2 separate regions of the Homo sapiens genome follow, and region 2 is linked to region 1. Evidence: promoter capture Hi-C in human tissues and cell types (Jung and others, 2019). All regions are on one chromosome and are shown on one strand. Each heading gives the region's core, a stretch centred on a gene start or on the middle of the fragment in contact. The rest is flanking DNA. Distances are from core to core; before and after follow the strand shown. Region 1 holds the start of RANBP17 (RAN binding protein 17). Region 2 holds the start of TLX3 (T cell leukemia homeobox 3).

The links. The method cuts DNA at HindIII sites, captures the fragments that hold promoters and counts their contacts. A contact is called where the count stands out against the background at its distance.
Region 2: the fragment with the promoter of TLX3 here is called in contact with the fragment with the promoter of RANBP17 in region 1 in 2 of the 25 tissues and cell types used here (H1 embryonic stem cells and neural progenitor cells).

What each region holds. Positions count from the first base shown.
Region 1 is chr5:170,858,919-170,864,233 of GRCh38, reverse strand. RANBP17 (RAN binding protein 17) reads right to left here and starts at 2,216. Exons shown (of 28, transcript NM_022897.5): 1 at 2,183-2,216. The coding sequence starts at 2,200. The HindIII fragment of the contact is 7,494 bases long and covers 1-4,973 here.
Region 2 is chr5:171,305,049-171,310,537 of GRCh38, reverse strand. It overlaps TLX3 (T cell leukemia homeobox 3), which reads right to left and starts at 1,290. Exons shown (of 3, transcript NM_021025.4): 1 at 752-1,290; 2 at 145-388. The coding sequence starts at 1,172. RefSeq lists enhancers at 1-27, 28-912, 913-1,798, 1,799-2,683. The HindIII fragment of the contact is 20,402 bases long and covers 1-5,489 here.

The DNA.
Region 1 (5,315 bases), core at 967-3,466:
AGGTGACAGTAAGACAGAGGTAATGGGGAACACGGAACTTATGAGTTATGAGGCCTACTCTAACTCTGTAACGTTGGGCAAGTCACAACTGTTTTAAGACTCAGTGTCTTCAGAATGAAACGTATATATGCACACTTTTTAAGTTAGTGGCAGGGCTCACCTCTATAATGAGGATATGAAAACTCAAAATGCTAGGTACTGGTTATCACTATTAACAAATGTTCCTTGAGTTAACTGATTAACAATATGATCCTATATGCTAAAAAGAATTCAAACGGAGAAATTTCAGTTTTTTTCTAGTCAACAAAACTGTCTGATCTTTTATTTGTCCAACTCCGCTTTTAAGCTGTCTACAGGAATGTACTGTGAAGTACTTATGTTGGAATGTACTGTGAAGTACATTCCTGCAAAACCAATATGGGTAGTTTTGACATCAGCAGCTAACTTTTCCAACACTGTGCCTAAATATGAAGAAGTCTTCCAGGGCTTGGTGATTTAACTGTACATCACCTTTCCATGTATGAAAAAATTCCAAAGTTCCACCATACCTTTTAATTTACTCTCAAGATTTACTCGGGCTCTGTGAACATCTGATTACCTATTTACAATCCATAAATCCTCCTTGTAAGATTCTTCCTGTGAAAATTTCCCAGAGGGCATATTTACTAAAGTGGTAATACATTATTTTGACCTGAGGACCCTTAGAAATGGCATGAAGTCAAAAGGTAATGTGTCGGGCTTACTACATAACATTCTAGAACTGTCGATTATCAGACAGTAACTGGTTTTAAAAAAAAGACCCTTTAGAAGAATCAATAAATCAGCCAAGTTATAAATCAGTGTGATCACAGGGGGTTCAAAAGAGTCTACAAGGGGAATGAGATTCTTAGATACACTGTCACCATATTATGAAATTCCCTTCCCTCCCTGGGGTCATCTCCTGCCACCCACTGCCTCCCCTGATCCCATCCCTTTGTCCCAACCAGACTCAACTTTCTGCAGTACACCATGTTCTTCCACAATTCTTTGCCTTGGCTCACACGTCCTTCTACCTCCATATCCTTCCCTTCCTCTTCACCTGGCAAACAACTACGACTCTTTCAAGGACCAGTAGACTGCAAGTTCCCTGAGAGTAGAAACCATAGTTTTGTTCAGAGCTGTTGTATCTTCAGCGCCTAGCATAGTAGGCGCTCAATAATTAATAAATGGAAGAATGGAGGCTCAAAGAATCTTAAAGCATCTCTCAGCTAAGAGCATAGCAGCTCTGCTTCACTCCTTCTCAACATACACATTTGGCTGGCTACCCCCTTTTCTGTGCTATGATACTGTGACTATTTCTACCATACATTTTTCACTTGTACTGTAATTCTCTGTTAACTGTATGAGGGCGAGGATAGTAAGATGTCATCCTTTATCCCCAGAACTTTCCACAATGCTTGAGACACAGTGGGGAGATAATAAATGTTTGCTGAATAACTGAACGGGGATGTCAGAGCAGCCCGAGGATATACAAGCACGCGTCCCATCTTCGTAGCCTCTGCGATCCTCGCGTCCGCGCCCGCGCCCGCGCCCGGCCCGGGTTTCCTCCTCCGAAGAGGCGGCCGCGTAGCCCTCCCTCGCAACTCCCCCCAGACGCAGCCCCTGTCTCCTCTGGCCAATTAAAGTCCAACCGCTGCCGCCGCTCCTTCGGTGGATCCCAAGCCCCCGCTCCGGCTGGGGCTCAACTGTGTGGAGGGAGGCTGACGATAGAGCCGCGCCGGCGACGCGGCGGGAAGGCGGGAAGGCTGCTCCACCGCTCGGCAGCCGCGCGAGGCGCGCCAAAGCCGGCCCAGCTGGGACTCCCACCTGCCCTGGCAACACTAAAGCCGCGGTCAGCGAGCGTGCTGCCGGCGTCCGCACCTTCCCCGGGACGAGCCCTGGGCCTGTCCCCCGCCCCCTCCACCCGCCGCCTCCAACCCAGGCTCGGCCGCCCCTTTCTCGGGCTCCGGCCCGGGCCTGGGGTGTGCAGCCCAGACCAGTGTCCCGGTCCCCGGCTAGGGGCAGAGGCAGGGGCTGGGACTCCGGGGACACCGGCCCACGGCCCTGCGGCCTCCGCCGCTGTCCTCGGCCCTCGGTCTCCAGACGCGTCCCGCCGGGTTCCCAGCGTGGCGGAGCGCGGGCCCGCGGCGCAGAGCACACTGACCTGGAAGTGCAGCGCCATCTTCCCAGGAGGCGGCGCCGGCCAGCCGGCCGGTCGGCACCCAGCGCCCGAGGGGAGGGAGCAGAGGCGGGCGCCGCGGAAGCCCCAGACGCCCGCGGGGTCCCTGCGCCGCTCGTCCTTCGCAGCCTCAGCCAGGCTTCGCGTCCGCATTCGAAGCGCTGGAGGGGCGGGGCTGGGAGGGACGGGGCGGGGCTGGGAGGGACGGGGCGGGGCGACGGAGGCGGTGCACGGGGCGGGGCCGATAGGGGCGTGTCCTCCGGGAATCTCAACCGTCCCTTGCGCTCAAGTTTCAACCGGCGTGTGTTGGTGGGTCATGACCTCCAACCTCTGCCCTTTGACACAACTACCACGACCCACCCGTCAGCCGTGGACCCTGACTCATAAGTCTTCCAAAGGCTCTCTTGACCCCTGACCCTCAAAATACAACTATCGCCCATGGCTCCCGACACCTGCATCTCCACAGATTTTCTTGTCTCCTAACAGCCAGGAACCACAGACACACACAGCCATAACCTTTGACTCCCACATGCCAGCTGTTGCCCTTGACCCCTGACTCCCAGGGCCCAAATTCCATTGTTGCTTAACAATGTTTTTAACTTGATTTTGGTTAAAATTAAACCGCCCATGTCTACATGCTGTTAAGTTGTAAAATTCAAGCTTTACCTCATTCTTTGTCTGCATTTTGTTTAATATGAACTTATATTTTACAACAAATGATTCCACTGCAATGAGAATTTATTGGAGCAGAATTGGGTCAAAGTTGCTGCTTTCTGATGTTCTCCGTTTTTTCTTCAAGTTCAGCATTTCCATTTGGGAGCACTGTGCTGTAGTATTTAAGAGGGAAACTCCCTTAAGCACTTCTTGTATTCAGGTCTGCTAACAACAAAGTCTCTCAGCTTTTGTTAACATAAAATCATCTTAATTCACCTTCATTTTTTAAAGGATAGTTTTGCTGGGTATAGAATTTCACATTGGCTTTTTTTTTAATCTTTCAGCATTTTAAAAATGTCTTCTCATTGTCTTCTGCTTGTCATTGTTTCTATTGAGAAATCAGCCATCAGTCTAATTGTTGCTCCTGTCTTTTGGCCCCCTCCTCAGGTACTTGAACATTTTTCTCTTTTTTTATTTTTTCTTTTTGTCTTCAGCACTTTGTGCTTGATGTCGCTAAGTGTGTGTGTGTGTGTGTGTTGTATTTATCCTGCTTGGGATTCATAAAGCTCTTTAAGTGTGAATGTAATCTTTTTTATCAAGTTTTGAAAAATCTTGGTCACTAGTTCTTTAAATATTGCATCTGTCCCCTTCTCTCTCTCTACCTCTCCATTCTGGAACTCCAGTTACATGTATGTTATAAGTTTTTGCTATATTCCTTATTTCTATTCTGTATTTTTTATTTGCCTGCTGTCCATTCCATAGAAACTCTGTTCTGCTGTGTCTGAGCTGCTATACATCCCCTCTATTGAATTCTTAGTTTTAGTTATAATATTTTCAGTTCTAGAATTTTCATTTAGAAAGTTGAAATTTTCATGGTTCCTCCTCCTCTCCCATTTTAAAAATAGATTCCAAGGCTTTGATGAAATTCTTTGTCTTTATTTTCTTAAACATTTTAACTGTATTATTTAAAGCCCTTATCTGTTAACTCCAATTTCTGAATCATCTGAGTCTTCCTGGGTTTTTGGTGCTTGGCCCTTGGCCCTTTTTTTTCTTTCTTTTTTTTTTTTTTTTTTTTTTTTTTTTTTTTACATATCTCATGATTTCTTGTTGAATTCAAACCATGTAGAAGAAAATTTGTAGAGGCTCTGGATGATAACAGGTTTCTCCAAGGAGGGCTAAGTTTTCTTGTGGTAGGCAGACAAGAGTACTAGTGGATCATTGAGTCTTTTTAATTCTGGTTAACTTCAGTTATGACCTTACTCCTAGGCCATGGTCCTTACTAGGTCTTACAACTAAAAGCCTAGAATGTGGCTGGGCATGATGGCTCATGACTATAATCCCAGCACGTTGGAAAGCCAGAGAGGGTGGATCGCTTGAATCCAGGAGTTTGAGACCAGCCTGGGCAACATGGTGAAAGCCCATCTCTACAAGAAATACAAAAAATTAGCTTGGTGTAGTAGCATGTGCCTGTAGTTCCAGCTACTCGGGAGGCTGAGGTGGGAAGACCCCTTGGGCCCAGAAGCTATAGGCTGCAGTGGGCCGTGATTGCACCACTGCACTCCAGGCCAGGCAACAGAGCAAGAATCTGTCTCAAAAAAACAAAAGCCTGGAATGTTTACCAAGATCCTTCCACCTTGTGGGGCTTGAACTCTAGTCTCTGTCTCTTCAGCCCTGTGTAGCTGCTGAAATCTTTGTTGAGCTCTTTAGGTGCTGTTGTTCTGCTGGATTTCTTAGAGTCTCTTCATGTGCATGTATATCTTAGGAACGGACACAAATTTGGGGACTCACATCTCTATAGTTTCTTTCTTTCTAGAATTTTGTCCTTCAAATCTCAGTTGCTCTTGTTCCGAAACTCCAGCCTTTGCTCCTAGCCTATTGAGACTGCTGCTTTCTATTTAGCTGTTATTCCTTGCTGCCACTTGGAAAATGCCTTGGGGTGATGACAGGGAGGAGCAGATGGGGAATCTAAGGTAAATTGGAATCTTACCCCTTGTGCTTTCCTTCTTTCAAGATTTGTGGCCACTTAAGTTCTGCCTTTTCTATTGCCTTTAGTTGTTAAAGATACTTATCTGTCGTGTGTGTGTGGGTGTGTGCATGCATGATTGCTGATAATTCATATTTACTCATAGTTTTATATATATTTAATATATGTGATAGAATTGTCATACACACACGTGTCCTATCTTTATAATAGTTTTCAGTGGGAGGTCTAATCCAACATAAGATACTTTATTATTATAAGCCTGTTTGCATCTTCCATGCTTCACCCTTGGTTTTCATAGCTCATCCACTGTCCATAAATCTGCATTTCCACAACTGAACTCCTTTAAACCTTAAAATCGTTAATACCCTCCCCCTGTGTCCCATTTTCACTCCTGTGTCCCAAAGTTCCTGATTCCCATAGTCGTAACTTCCATTTCCATGTCTCAATACTTTTGATATCCAATCTCAACTGTGATTCCCA
Region 2 (5,489 bases), core at 41-2,540, 450 kb before region 1:
AAGGCGGGGTGGGGGTGTGTTTGGGGGAGGCAGAGGGGGGCGGGGGTAGTGGATAGCCTTAAAATAGGGCTAGTGCGAGGCTGCGGCTCGGGGCGGGACAGGTGAAGGGCAGGTGTAAGGTGGGCCGGGTCAGGCCTCTCTCACCGCCACTTGGTCCTCCGGTTTTGGAACCAGGTCTTGACCTGCGCGTCCGTCATTTTGAGGGACTTGGCGAGCGCCGCCCTCTCGGCAGAGGCCAGGTACTTCTGGCGATGGAAGCGCTTTTCCAGCTCGCAGATCTGCACCCGGGAAAAGGACGTGCGCGGCTTCTTACGCTTGGGCGGCGTCCGGTTCTGGTAGGGGTGGCCGATGCGCCGGGTCACGGTGAAGGGCGTGAGTGCGGCCGCCGCTGCGGAGACACAGGAGGGCCCCTGAAGCCCAGCCCGGCTCCGCCACCGTTCAGGCCCCATGCGGACCCCGTGGCGCCCCGTGGGACACGGAGAGCTCCGCTATTTCGCTGGTCGCGCGCGTTTCCAGAGACACCAAGCCGGTCGGGAGACCCCCTCGCCCCCTGTCCCTTCCCCCGGGCACGGGCTTATTTTCCTGCAACTCTCCGATTACCCTCCCCACCACGGCTGCCCGGGGCCCTGGGGCCGAGGCCTCCGCCGCGCTTGGGCCTCTGAAATGGTTTCCGGGAGTGGAGCGCACAGGGCGCGGCGCCTCTGGCCCCGAGAGGGCGGAGGCCTGGAGCCTGGTCGCCAGCTCTGCTCACCTGTGAAGCGGTCTTTCACGAAGCGGCGGCTGCTCTCCATCCAGGGGAAATTGAGACCGCCAAGGCTGGAGACCGTGGGCACGGAGGGCATGGCGGGTAGCGCGCTTGGCAGAGGCGGTGGCACGGCCCCGGGCAGCGGCCTGTGCGCCGGCACCCGGATCACGCCTGCGGGCGCTAGGCTCAGGTTCACACTGTAAGATCCCGCGTCCTCGAAGGGCGCGCCGAGGCCCGCAAAGGAGGCGGGCAGAGACGGGTATGTGGCGCCCGGACGGCCCCCGGGGGGCCCTCCCAGGTAGCTGGCGCCGTCGGGGCCCCGCGGGGCGGGTGCGCTGTCCTGGTCCGGGCTGTTAAGGATCTGGTCGATGCCGAAGCTGATGGGCTCGTGCGGGTGCGGGGTCTGCGCGCTGGCGGGCGCCTCCATCCTGGGCGGGCGGAAGGGCTGGGCTGGGCTGGGCGGGGAGGCGGCTGGGTCCCCGTTACGGCGCGGCCATGGAGCGCCCGGCGCCTCTCGTCGCACTGAAACTTTGCCAAGAGTGCGCGGGCCCGACAGGCTCTGTGTCATCTTTCTTGAACCGAACCTGGAGTTTCCGCTGCTAATTCCTCTCCTGCCGCAGCCATTGGCTGCGATCAACAAGCCTCTCTCCTCTCATTGGCTCCCGGCTTTCAATAAAGGCCTAATTCATGGAAATAGGAGCTTAGGGACTGTTCCAAGGTGACATCATTTTAACAAACGAACAATAGGTCAAATTTATTAGCAGGGATAATGGGCGGCGGATATTAGAGCCCGAACCACAGCCTCCCAAACCCGAAATCTAACGAAGCTGCAATTAGCAGACGCTCCCCGCTCCTCCGGGCCGGGCCGCTTCCCAGACACCGCGCTGGGTGGGTAGAGCGCTCCGCTTGTGAAATTGTCTTTTGCTGAGTGGGTTTTCGTTTTCTTCCAATTTTTTTTTTTTTTCATCTGAGCAAAAGCCAAACCAAATGCATCCTTTCAGGTACAATGGAGTTGCAACCCCGGGACGACCCGGCGGAATCCGCAGAAGCCCCTTGGACGCTACCGCCGCCGGAGGAACGAAAGGGGCGCACTACCCGGGGCAGGCTTCGCGCTGCCTGCGCGCGGGGCGAGGGGAGCACCGTAGCGTTCTCCGCGCCCCGGATGACGCCGACCCGCGTGGGGAGAATTCGCCCCCGCCCGGGTTTCGGCCGCGGCCTCGCGGCCACTTTGGAGACACTCCCTGGCTCCGGCCAGGCGGACCGAGGCGTGACTCGCAGGTGCCCACGCGTGCCAGCTGCGGCTGGGCTAGGGACGCGGGGTCGCCCGGTGGGGAGCGGGGACCTGACTCTCGTAATTCGTTGCAGGATGGAAGGGGGCTGTGGTCGCGCGTGGGAACCCGCTCGCGGCTCGGCGGGTCTAGGGACTTCGGGTTCCTGAATGTCAAAGGCGCGGGCAGCTCCTAGAGCAAATTGCGGGATTTCTTTGGGAAACGCGACTGGTGAGCCCTTCCCGGCTCCAGTCCACTTTGGGCGCTGGAACCACTCCCCGTTCTGCTCGCGCCTCAGTGACTGTCTACCCGGCCCAGGGCACCGTGGACAGGACCGCACACGAAGTAGTCACCTTCCGCTGCAGCTTTGGGGAGACAAGCGGAATCATTTTCTTCCAGCGAATTCTAAAATCGTTAGGTGCAAACTCTTTGAGTGTCGCACCCCTGGCCTGGGTTCTTCCTCCCGCTCCTTGTGGTGTGGACAGTGGTGAGAGCTCGGATGTGCTGTTGTTGGCCAGAAGTGTGTTCAAATTTGGACTGGCCATTTCCTCGCTGAGTGACCTTGAGAAATTGACTCTATATATTTAGATTTCGGTTTTCTCGTTTGCAAAAAAGGAAAATAATGCATGCATGCGGGTTGTTCGTGAGCCGCGAGTGAGATATTGAGGGAGCGCAGAGCACTGGGCCTGGCACGTAGTAGGCACTGGGCAGCGTGGCTCACCTCCCACTCTATCCCCCCAGAGTAATGGCTGATGTATTATTGTTGTGACTCTTGTTTATTTTGTTGGCAGTTTAATTTTATTTGCAGGGGCTCAGTACGTTGGAGAGAAAGGTGTATTTGTCTACCAGTAGGGTCAGTTTCAGAGGACGGGGAAAGACAGGAGGTGCAGGTTGGGGATTCTTTCTCTCTTCTCCCAACAATCCAAAGGCGTCAGGATTTGCAGGGCCTCCAGGCCTGGGTCTGGAGTTAGGTCACTTGCCCGCTGTGTGACCTTGGGCAAATTCCTGGCCCTTGCTAAGCCTTCCTGGTGGGTGTGGAGAGGGAGGCCCAACAGTGAGGAGTGAGAGCTGCAGGATGTCTGGGGTCTGGGCAAGTGCTCCCTCACTCCCTTCCAGCGACAACGACCCTCAGATGGGGTAGATGCCATTGCCCTGGCTCCAGGGGGCCTCCTGCTTCTAATTCAGGCTCTGCCACTGGCAGTGTGGGTCCCTAACCGCCCCTCCCAGAACCGCATTTTCCTTATTTGTAAAACAAAAAGGGCACCAGCTACCCCCAGGGTGGCTGTGAGAACAAAATGAGATAACATCTGTGGCAGTGCCTGTGTGAAACTCTGGCGGTTATATCATAATAACTTTAATGACAACTATAAAGCTACTGTAGCTGAGACCCTAGCCTGTGCCAGGCAGGGAGGTGGACACTTATTTATTCTTCACAATGACCCTGTGAGGAAAGGGCTGTTAGTGGCCCCAATTTCTCACTAATGAGGGAATTGAGGCTTTGAGAGTTCAAGGGAAGCACAGCTCCCCACTTGGGGGCTGGAGTTGGCACCTCACCAGCTCCACTTCCCTTCTGGCTTCCAGTGCCCGGGACTCAGGGCTGCCCTTGTCACTTCAGACACTGTTAAATCAGGACAACAAGGCCCACCGCACAGAGGTTTGTGGCACAGAATTAAGGCGTGGGTGGCACAGCGCTGCTCCCAGCTTGTGTGCTTAAGAATGGGATTCCCACCTCAGTTTACCAGCTGTGGACTCAGGGAATTATTCATCCTCTTTATGCCTCAGTTTTCTCATCTGGTAAATAAACCTCATGGGATTAAATAAGCGCCCCAGGTAAAGCCTGGCACGGGTCAGGGCTCTGCTTCACTGCTTGGCTTCCGGCTTCCTGAGATCCACGGTCCCTCATCGTCCAGCCCTGTCATACAGATGAAGGAGCTTTGGGCCACTAATTATAAGCCTCCTTTCACTTCCTATCCAGATAGCTCTTAGGCAGCTCAGGAATGGGGGGAACTTGGTTAGTCCCTAGGACAGTGGTTCTCAGAGTGTGTTTCCAGAGCAGCAGCATCAGCATCACTGGAGAATTTGTTAGAAATGCAAATTATTGGACCCTCGCCAGACCTACGGCATCAGACACTCTGGGGTAGGACTCGGCAGTCTGTGCTTAACAAGCCCTCCAGGTGATTCTGATGCCTGCTCAACTCTGGAAGCCAGTGCCCAGAATATGGTCCATTCCATCTGAGTTTTCAAATGTGTTGTTGTAACATTGTGGGAAGATTCTCTCAGAATTTGCAACTCTCATACGAATCTGTACTAATGCCTTCCACTTCTCATTCCCCGTGTCGCTCATTCATGCCTTCTCCTGATCATACTTGCCAAAGGTTTGTTATTTTGTTGGTTTTTAAAAAAGCCTTTGATGTCATTATCCCCTTTTAAGATGCCACCTCTTTCGTGAATGTTGCGGTTTAAAAAAAGATTTATTCCTTCTTTGCTGAGTTGAAAATTTAATTTGTCAATTTTCTTTCTTTTTAAATAAATGCACTCAAGGGCATACGTTTTCCTCTAAGCACTGTTTTGGCCAGGTATGTTCTGATATGTATTTGGTGTTCCTGAGGTTGTAATTTCTTGCTGCCCTTGTAATTTACCTGCTGTCACTTGATCAGTGAGGCATACACACTGAAAGAGATTAGGAAATGAGAATTGTAAGAACTGGGGATGAGGATTCCCGGGGCTAGAGAGACTTTCAGAATGGAGCACATCCTCTCCTCTTCCCCAAGAAGAAGCTGGAAGAAAGGGGTACAGCTGGTGGAGGCTTTGCCGAGAGTCATCTAGAAGAGGGTGGGGCTTCAGGGATGACAGGCAAGATGCTGGGATTTCCAGCTGGCCCATGAGCCCAGCTGTGGGAGGCCAGGTTCCTCCAGGATCATTCTGCCATTGACTTCCTGAGGGAAATGAGACTCCATTTCCCTGTCTGTGAAATGGGGTAGAGACTGAATCAGGACTTTAAATGTATTTGGGTCAGCTACCCTATTTGAAACACGGATGAAAATATTGTGGTCTGCTTCCATAGAAAAAGACAGAAACACATAATTTGGCACACACACCATGTCACAGGTTGCTGACCTGCCATGCTGTTCTTGGCTTACACACCCTAGTTAGGAGTCCCTAGGGGCCCTTCCAGTTTTCCTGATGGGAGGCTCTAAAGACACTTGCCGAAATTTATTCGCCCATTCATTTATTTATTCAACGAATATTTACTGAGCACCTACTCACATTTCCTGGACCATTCCCCAGTGCAGGGGCTTGCTTTCCCCATCTAACAGTGGGCACAAAGCAGTCTGAGCTCTTCATCACTGCTTCCCCCAGTGGGCAGGACCTAGGGAAGAACCTTCCTGAGGAGGTCTGATCAGTCTCAAGACTCTGCCAGCCAGTGGAAGGAAAAGGCCTTCAGATGTCGGCTGTTGCTTGGGACCCCCCACTGC